Linked DNA regions of Homo sapiens: all the other regions are linked to region 2. The links are contacts of gene promoters, found by promoter capture Hi-C in blood cells and fetal thymus (Javierre and others, 2016). All regions are on one chromosome and are shown on one strand. Each heading gives the region's core, a stretch centred on a gene start or on the middle of the fragment in contact. The rest is flanking DNA. Distances are from core to core; before and after follow the strand shown. Region 1 has its middle 300 kb from the start of MCPH1-DT. Region 2 holds the start of DEFA5 (defensin alpha 5). Region 3 has its middle 280 kb from the start of MCPH1-DT.

Evidence for each region. Contacts are between HindIII fragments. The CHiCAGO score rates a contact against its expected background, and 5 or more counts as called.
Region 1: a contact is called between a fragment that was not itself captured here and the fragment with the promoter of DEFA5 in region 2, in 1 of 17 cell types (fetal thymus). The highest score is 8.7, in fetal thymus.
Region 3: a contact is called between a fragment that was not itself captured here and the fragment with the promoter of DEFA5 in region 2, in 1 of 17 cell types (fetal thymus). The highest score is 7.3, in fetal thymus.

The regions. Positions count from the first base shown.
Region 1 is chr8:6,106,722-6,109,421 of GRCh38, reverse strand. No RefSeq gene overlaps it. Among named protein-coding and RNA genes, the nearest start is that of MCPH1-DT, 300 kb to the left of the region's middle. The HindIII fragment of the contact is 1,447 bases long and covers 619-2,065 here.
Region 2 is chr8:7,055,482-7,058,254 of GRCh38, reverse strand. DEFA5 (defensin alpha 5) reads left to right here and starts at 1,516. Exons shown (of 2, transcript NM_021010.3): 1 at 1,516-1,729; 2 at 2,712-2,773. The coding sequence starts at 1,558. The HindIII fragment of the contact is 6,427 bases long and covers 1-2,054 here.
Region 3 is chr8:6,124,614-6,127,313 of GRCh38, reverse strand. No RefSeq gene overlaps it. Among named protein-coding and RNA genes, the nearest start is that of MCPH1-DT, 280 kb to the left of the region's middle. The HindIII fragment of the contact is 4,497 bases long and covers 1-2,700 here.

The DNA.
Region 1 (2,700 bases), core at 93-2,592, 950 kb after region 2:
ACAGGGCTTAGGGTTGGATATCTTCAGTGGTATTTACCATAAGCCCCATGAAAATGGTGACACCTATCGTTGGAGGCCGCCCGTTCAATTTTATGAACAGGATAAGGCTCCTGTTCCAAGCTTAGTGTCTGGTGTGCAGGAGAGCAGGTTGCAAAGTGTTCCGAATTTGGGGTCTGGATCCAAGCTCCTTGTGTACGTAAATTTGAAGATGTTTTCTGGTTCTGCCCTCACAGTCAGCCCACAGACTGTCTTTGCAACCCCACAGGAAAAGATCACAGTCCTTCATGGCTGTGTCATTTTACACTCTAGCTTCTTTATCAAAGTTGCCTGCATTTATTTTTCCATCTGGTAAACTTTGATTTATCCTTCAAGATCCAAATTAAAAAACAAAACTTTTCAGCTGTAAAGTCTTTCCTGATTTTCCCTGCCAGGGTTAATTACTTTCTCGTCTTCCTTTTCACGGATGGACAGTACTCTGATGTCTGGGACGGTATCCGTTTTTAGAAAGCTTCTGAAGCTTCAGCGTGCATATGAGCTACCTAGGGAACTTGTCAAAATGCGTCTTCTGAGTCTGTGGGTCTAGGAGGGGGTCTGAGAGTCTGTAGTTTTTAATAAGCTTCCAGGTGATGCTGATGCTGCTTGTCTGAGAACCACACTTCAAGTAGCAAAGCTGTTTTATAGATGAATCCTAAGGTTTGGTGTAGAGTTTGTGCTCAGTCCAATTTGGCTGATTGTTGAATGAATGATACTTGATGCCCTTCATCTGTGGCTTTCTTAATGGGAAACTTGATTATCTAAAAAAAACATACAAATGAGATACATTGAGGTCATATTTAACACTTGCCTAATCAACTATATTTATTTGCTTAGACTGAGAACCTCCACATCTCTTTAACTTTTGGTAATAATAATAGCAAACATTTCCTAGGAGTTCGCATGCTATTTACTAAGCTCCCCTCTAAGCAGGATACATGCATTCACTCATTTCACCCTCAGAATAGCCCTAGGAGGTTGTAGATTTGTCAAAATAATGCTGTAACAACAACAACAACAACAAAAACCCCAAAAGGTATCATGACTCAAGCACAACAGAGTTCATTTCTTGTTCACATACAACTTTCATCAGGTGTTCCGATGGGAAGGTGACTCTCCTCCAAACAGTGACCCAGGGACCCAGGCTCCTTCTGTCTGTGATCCTGCCATCTTCACAAATGTGGCTTCCAAGTCACCGTGCTTGTGTGCATTATGTGGAAAAGAATTAGCGTGAGGATTGAAGGAGTGGTACACATCTTTTTATTCATTTTTCTTTGGCTATTACTCAAGCGTGTGGCAACAACTAACTAAAAGGGAGGTTTGAAAATGTTGTTCAACTGTATGCCTAGGGAAAAAAGGAGCTGTTTGGTAAATATAATCCAAGTGTGGCTAACCTAGGTATCTGAATGTGGTTAGTATTTCCCTAGTGCTATCCAAGGTCTCAATAGTAATGGTTTATGCTCTGAGGCAAAATGGGAACTCATCAGCAGTGGCTAGTTGGGAGAAAAAAGGACTGGCTACATTTATGCAAGAAAAAAGTGATCTGGCTGCAGAACTACTTAACTTTCCTCCAAAGCAGGAGGGTGGAATGGGAGGGCAGTAGTGCAGTCTAATGTGACCAAGTCAGGACTGGGGGTCAGCTCAAAGGATAGAAACGGAAATTGTAGCAGGGACATTTGTAGTCAGACAGAACAACAGTGTTTGGGGAGATTTGTCTCTAAGAACTGGGAAGACTCTGAGAACCCAAAACTCAGCTTGTGGGGAGGCCTAGAGTCACGGGCCCATTCCATGTCCTGCCCACTGGCAGGCTCTGTGAGGAAGCAGAGTTCAAACGTTGACATAAAGCGAGTGGGGTGTGGAAAGGTAGAGATGAATGAGCCCTGAAGGACAGGGCTTACTGAGAGGAAAGAGTTATTATGAGCACAGCACTGAAAACAAGCAGCTTTTTCGTAAGTACAATATAGTTCCTTTATGAGACTTCTTATTTTCTTCTTTTCTTTTCTTTTCTTTTATTATTATTATACTTTAAGCTTTAGGGTACATGTACACAATGTGCAGAGGTTAGTTACATATGTATACATGTGCCATGCTGGTGTGCTGCACCCATTAACTCGTCATTTAGCATTAGGTATATCTCCTAATGCTATCCCTCCCCACTCCCTCCACCCACAACAGTCTCCAGAGTGTGATGTTCCCCTTCCTGTGTCTATGTGTTCTCATTGTTCAATTCCCACCTATGAGTGAAAACATGCGGTGTTTGGTTTTTTGTCCTTGCGATAGTTTACGGAGAATGATTTCCAATTTCATCCATGTCCCTACAAAGGACATGAACTCATCATTTTTTATGGCTGCATAGTATTCCATGGTGTATATGTGCCACATTTTCTTAATCCATTCTATCATTGTTGGACTTTTGGATTTGTTCCAAGCCTTTGCTATTGTGAATAGTGCCGCAATAAATATACGTGTGCATGTGAGACTTCTTATTTTCAAATATTAACTCAATGTGGATCAAGGCCTTAGAAATAAAGGCAAAGGGGTGTAAGAGAAACAAGACTAAAACATTTAGGGAAAAAACCTTACAGAATCTAAAAGTATTTTTTTCATAGAAAAAAGTTTTATAATTGATAGAATATCCTTTATACTTTCAAGTTCCAGTATAAAAAA
Region 2 (2,773 bases), core at 267-2,766:
TTAAAAAATTAAGTTGGTGAGGTGATGGCTATCTTAATTAGCTTATGTGTTTCTCCCATGTGGATATCAATCCAAACGTCACATCATACCCTACAAATATACAGAAAATTATTTTTCAATGAATAAATAAATAAATTTGAAAAAAATTAAATGAGGAATTCAAATATAGAGACTCTCCAAGGGCCCACTGAGCCCCAAAGGATTTGGATCAAATATGGTGATATTATGGAAATATGTAGTAATATCTTAAAAATGTGTAAGATATAGTCTCTTTTTTTTTTTTTAAGAGAAAGGGGTCTCACTATGTTTTTAGGCTGGTATCGAACTCCTGGTCTCCAGTGATCCTCCCACCTCAGCCTCTCAAATAGCTAGAAATATAGGCATGTACCACCATGCTGGCTTAAGATGCATTCTTTGACACAGCAATTCTATTTCTATAAGTTTATCCATATAGGTAAGAGAACATATATACAAGATAATCACTGTAACTTTACTTATTACTGCAAAAGTTTAAAAATAACCAAATTGTAATAATTTTATAATATTTTATCAGTACAAAAAATAAGTGATGGCATATACAAACCCTGGGATAGTATAAGGCTATTAAAATTATAATAGCATTCCATGTATTTTGATATACAAAGTGCCAATGTTACAGGTGAAAAAAGCGAAGTGCAGAATACTATGTGTAACTGTTAATAGTGATGGTTTGCTGGGTCAGAACTGAAGGCCTGGGGGTAGAAATGAGAGCTCATGACTTCTACCTTTTGAATGTTGTTCCTTGTGCATGATTTACAATTTTCTAAAACTAAAAAAAAAATCTCAGAAAGGGGCTGTACGCACCTAAATTACTTTGATATTCCCCAAAGTGGAGAGAAGTACCCGCTACACATTTTATGTGATGCATTCAGATCACACCAACTCCTTGAACTAAATCCGAATTTTTATTTTAATCTGATAAACTTGGCCTACTATTTTACTGAACTCATTTCCCCTATAGCCTGATAAGGTCATTGACCTCTCCATACTGGCACCAGCGGGAGACTACTCACCTCGAGATCTCAAAAGCCTCCTACATGAGGTTAGTAATATCCCTGAATCCTGCAATGAATTAACTCTCTACTCCACTGAGTCCCAGGTCTGCCCCCAGAGAGTCATCCAGAGAGTACCAGGGACCATCTTCAGAAAACAAGAGGCATTTGATCCCCAAACTTCTTGAATGAAAGCGCTGTTGTTTTTCTTTTTTGAATATATAAAAGTAAATACTCAAGCAGATGGGAAACAGAACAGGATAGTAATACCCTTATCATCATTAACACCTTGGATCAAGAAGAGGCATTAAGCATACAGACTCACGCTTTGATGAAAGCTGGGAGAAAGAGGAGCATCAAAGGGATCTTGAGAACAAAGGCAGTCCTTCCCCTCCCAATCACATGCCCACCTCCTCTCACTGCAGCTTCTGTCTCAGGTCTTCTCCCAGCAGAGCTATAAATCCAGGCTGACTCCTCACTCCCCACATATCCACTCCTGCTCTCCCTCCTGCAGGTGACCCCAGCCATGAGGACCATCGCCATCCTTGCTGCCATTCTCCTGGTGGCCCTGCAGGCCCAGGCTGAGTCACTCCAGGAAAGAGCTGATGAGGCTACAACCCAGAAGCAGTCTGGGGAAGACAACCAGGACCTTGCTATCTCCTTTGCAGGAAATGGACTCTCTGCTCTTAGAACCTCAGGTAGGAGACATCAATCTTGCACATCTGCAAAATCTAGAAAAAAAGGATTGGAGAAAGGATCTGGAGTCAAGTGTGGAAAGGTCTACCTCACTTGAGTGACTTTACTTAATCTTCCTGGACCTTGATTTTCTCATCTATAAATTAATCAGTGAGAACCAAATAAATCTAAAAGATTTTCTTTTTTCTAAGACTTTCAGTTCCAAGATATTTCTGTGAAATTTGCTACTTTTAAGATAGAAAGAGCTACACTGACTAGTTCTTTGTAGATCTAAATGGGCAGACTTAGTTATATAGAGAGTGTTTTACTTTGTCCATTGGAAAAGCTTTTAGAACCTAGAGAGGAACCTATAGGTGTGTTTTGATGTAGGCTAATAGGCTTGATTAAATCTTTCTACAATACATCCTTAGATCAAAACATCATATTGTGTCTCATACATATACACAATTATTGTTTGTCAATTAAAACAAGTAAATATGTAAAATGTTAAAAAAAAAAAAAAAAAAAAAAAAAGGAGAGACAGAGAATGAAGAATTTGAATTTGGAAAGTCTTCAAAGACTCCTTGAGCACCAAAGTATTTGGTCCATGACATTAGCATGCACAATGCGGCATTTCAGAAACTGATTCAGGTGCTTTAGGGAGCCTTGTTAGGACCTGGAAATCACACATGGAGGTCAAGATTAGGCGTGTGGATGAAGCAGAATGAAGAGTAGGTAACCCTGAGGTTGAGAGGTATATTGTTGGACCAGGGAGCAGGTAATAAATACATCCTGGATAGACTCACATGGGGAAAAAAACTATGATCTTGCATGACTAACACATAGCTAGTAAGATTTCTTGTCACTTACGACAAAGACATGAATTTTCTCCATCCTAACATGACTGATACAGTGTCTCTTATTTAGACTATCTCAGTTAGTCTGGCTGTGCTTGTCCTTTTTCCCACCTCCCTCGCTGTGCCTGACCCTCTCTTCTTTCCACAGGTTCTCAGGCAAGAGCCACCTGCTATTGCCGAACCGGCCGTTGTGCTACCCGTGAGTCCCTC
Region 3 (2,700 bases), core at 130-2,629, 930 kb after region 2:
AATTTGCTCTTGGTTTACTTTTAGGTTGATATACCTCCTGGTGTATGGCAAAAATAAATTCAGAAATCTCTGTAGAAGAGCCTATTTCCAACTCTGGCCTCAATGAATTCCCAAAGATAAATTGGCAAGACACATGAGGTCATGGTAACATTTTTCTTAAAAAAAAAAATGCAGGCTACTGGTTGGGCATGGTGGCTCATACCTGTAATCTCAGCATTTTGGGAGGCCAAGGCAGGCAGATCACGAGGTCAAGAAATTGAGACCATCTTGGCCAACATGGTGAAACGCTGTGGTAAAATTTTTGTATTTGTAAAAATACAAAAATTAGCTGGGCGTGATAGTGCGCACCTATAGTCTCAGCTACTCAGGAGGCTGAGGCAGGAGAATCACTTGAATCTGGGAGGCAGAGGTTGCAGCGAGCCGAGATCGTGCCATTGGACTCCAGCCTGGTGACAGAGTGAGACTCCGTCTCACAAAAAAAAAAAAAAAAAAAAAAAAAGGCCACTGTAAGTGACAGCAGAAAAAACAGACAGCAGAATCAGACGCATTGGACTTCAGATAATGCACTTATTGAAGATAATATAAATGATTATGTTTAATATTTTTAAAGAAATAAAAGAGGTGTTGAAACATTTAATGAAGGTGAGAAGAAGAACTGACTTGGGTTGAGGGATTGGTGCCACTGAGAATCCGGATAATCACTCTGTCATTGATTGGTTATTTGACTAAATCAATACATTTATTTATTTATTTAGAGATGGGGTCTTTCTTTGCTCCTCAGGCTGGAGTGCAGTGGCTCTTCATAGGTTCCTTCATAGTGCACTGTGGCCTCCAACTCCTGAGATTTGGAGGTAAAAGTGTTCAATTGATTCTCCTGCCTCAGCCTCCTGAGTAGGTGGGACTACAGGTGCCTGCCACCATGGCTAATAATATTTACTAAGATTCTAAAATATGCCAGACAGGAAGGTAAGGAGGTTGGATAAATGGTGGAACTGGGAGATAATATAGGCGATATTGGGGTGCTCACATTGGATAGCTTTTTTAAAAAAAAATGCATTAGATTGGCTATGGTGAGAAATGCTGGAAGAGGAGGTATCAGATGCTTTAAAAGGAACAGAAAATGATGAAGAGTCCAAGATGAATTTCACTTGATTGTTGAACACTGAGCACTCCTGAAGCCTTGCACATCTGGACGCTGAGTTGAAGGACTCCTGTGTCAATCAGCAGTAGTGAGTGAATTGGTCAATACATTCCACAGTTTTCTTCTCCGTACAATTACGAGTTTGGATGGGTCACAAGAAAGGTTTCTCATGAGATTTGGAGGTAAAAGTGAAGTCTGGGTCTTATACTTTTACATGGAAGGATCTGTGAAGGGCATGAAGCTCTGTTGCAGCCCAAGCCCATGGTGCTCAGCTCCTGGCTCACCTTGGGATGGGACAGCAGCCACTCTGGTCCTGAGCATCTCCTCCTCCAGGGCCTTTGCCTCCTGTACCAGGTGCTTTTTTAGTTCCACGAGGAAGGAGCAGCTTCTGCGGCAGGCCACTGGCCTCCTCTGTTGAAGGCTCAAGCAGGTTCCCGTCGTTCTCCGGGGCTCCAGCTTGTCCTGAATTTCTCAGTGTGTCCTTGCTCCTCAACTTTATGTCCACTTCTCCTTTCTGCCAGCCTGTCCTGATGACTTTAGGCTCCTGCCCCAGACAGAAAAAGGTAGCCTCCTCACACAGGCTGTTTAATGAGCTCTTATGGTTGCTTGAGCTCCAATCTCTATGACAAATCCTCAGTCAAAATCCCCCCATAGTGGTTCTGTTTCTTCCATCAAACCCCGAATGATAGAAGGAGCATGAGTCAGCCTAGCCTCTGACCTTTCCCAACCATTCAGTGTTTAGACACAGACAACATTGGATTTCCTGTGGCCACATCATGAGCTCAGGCCCTTCTTATTTGTTGGCAGAGCAAAGGAAGTAGCAGAGTGAGGCTGTGATATATTCTAGTCCAGCACTTCTTAAATGTTTTGGTCTCAGAACACCTTTACACTCTTAAAATGTATTCAGGATCTCAATGAGATTTTGTTTAAGTGGGTCGTATCTGTTGGAATTTATTGCAAAAATTAAGACTTATTTAATTAAAAATTATAAAACAGATTATTCATTTAAAAATAATAAGCCCATTACATGTTAATATAAAAGTACATTTTTACGGAAATAACTGTTTTCTAAAACAAAAACAAGTGGGGTAAGGACAGTAGCTTGTTTTAAATTTTTTGCAACTCTGTTTAACATCTGGCTTCATGGAAACCAGCTGGATTTTTATATCCGCTTCTGCATTCAAACTTTTGTTAACATTCTGTGTCCGGTAGGCTCTGGAAGACTCCATTGCATATTTGTGAGAGATTAACAGTGAAAAGGAAAATGGCATCTTAGTAATATTGTGAAAATAGGTTTGTCTTTGCAGACTGCTTGAAATTTTGGGATTCCCCATGGGTTCCCAAACCACACTGGGGGACTGTTGGGTTAGTCTAAGGGCTGAGTTTAAGGGTGAATTGTTAGGGGGTTATGAGTACTGGTCACGGTTTCAGGAGAAAAGTGAAGATGCCTCAGTGGCTGGCTGGCCATTTCAGGACCTTGGATAGAGAAGAGAAAGGTGAGCACAAGGAAAGGCTTTTCATGCTCTCGCTGTTGTAGTTGGGGATGTCATGAGTCTTCC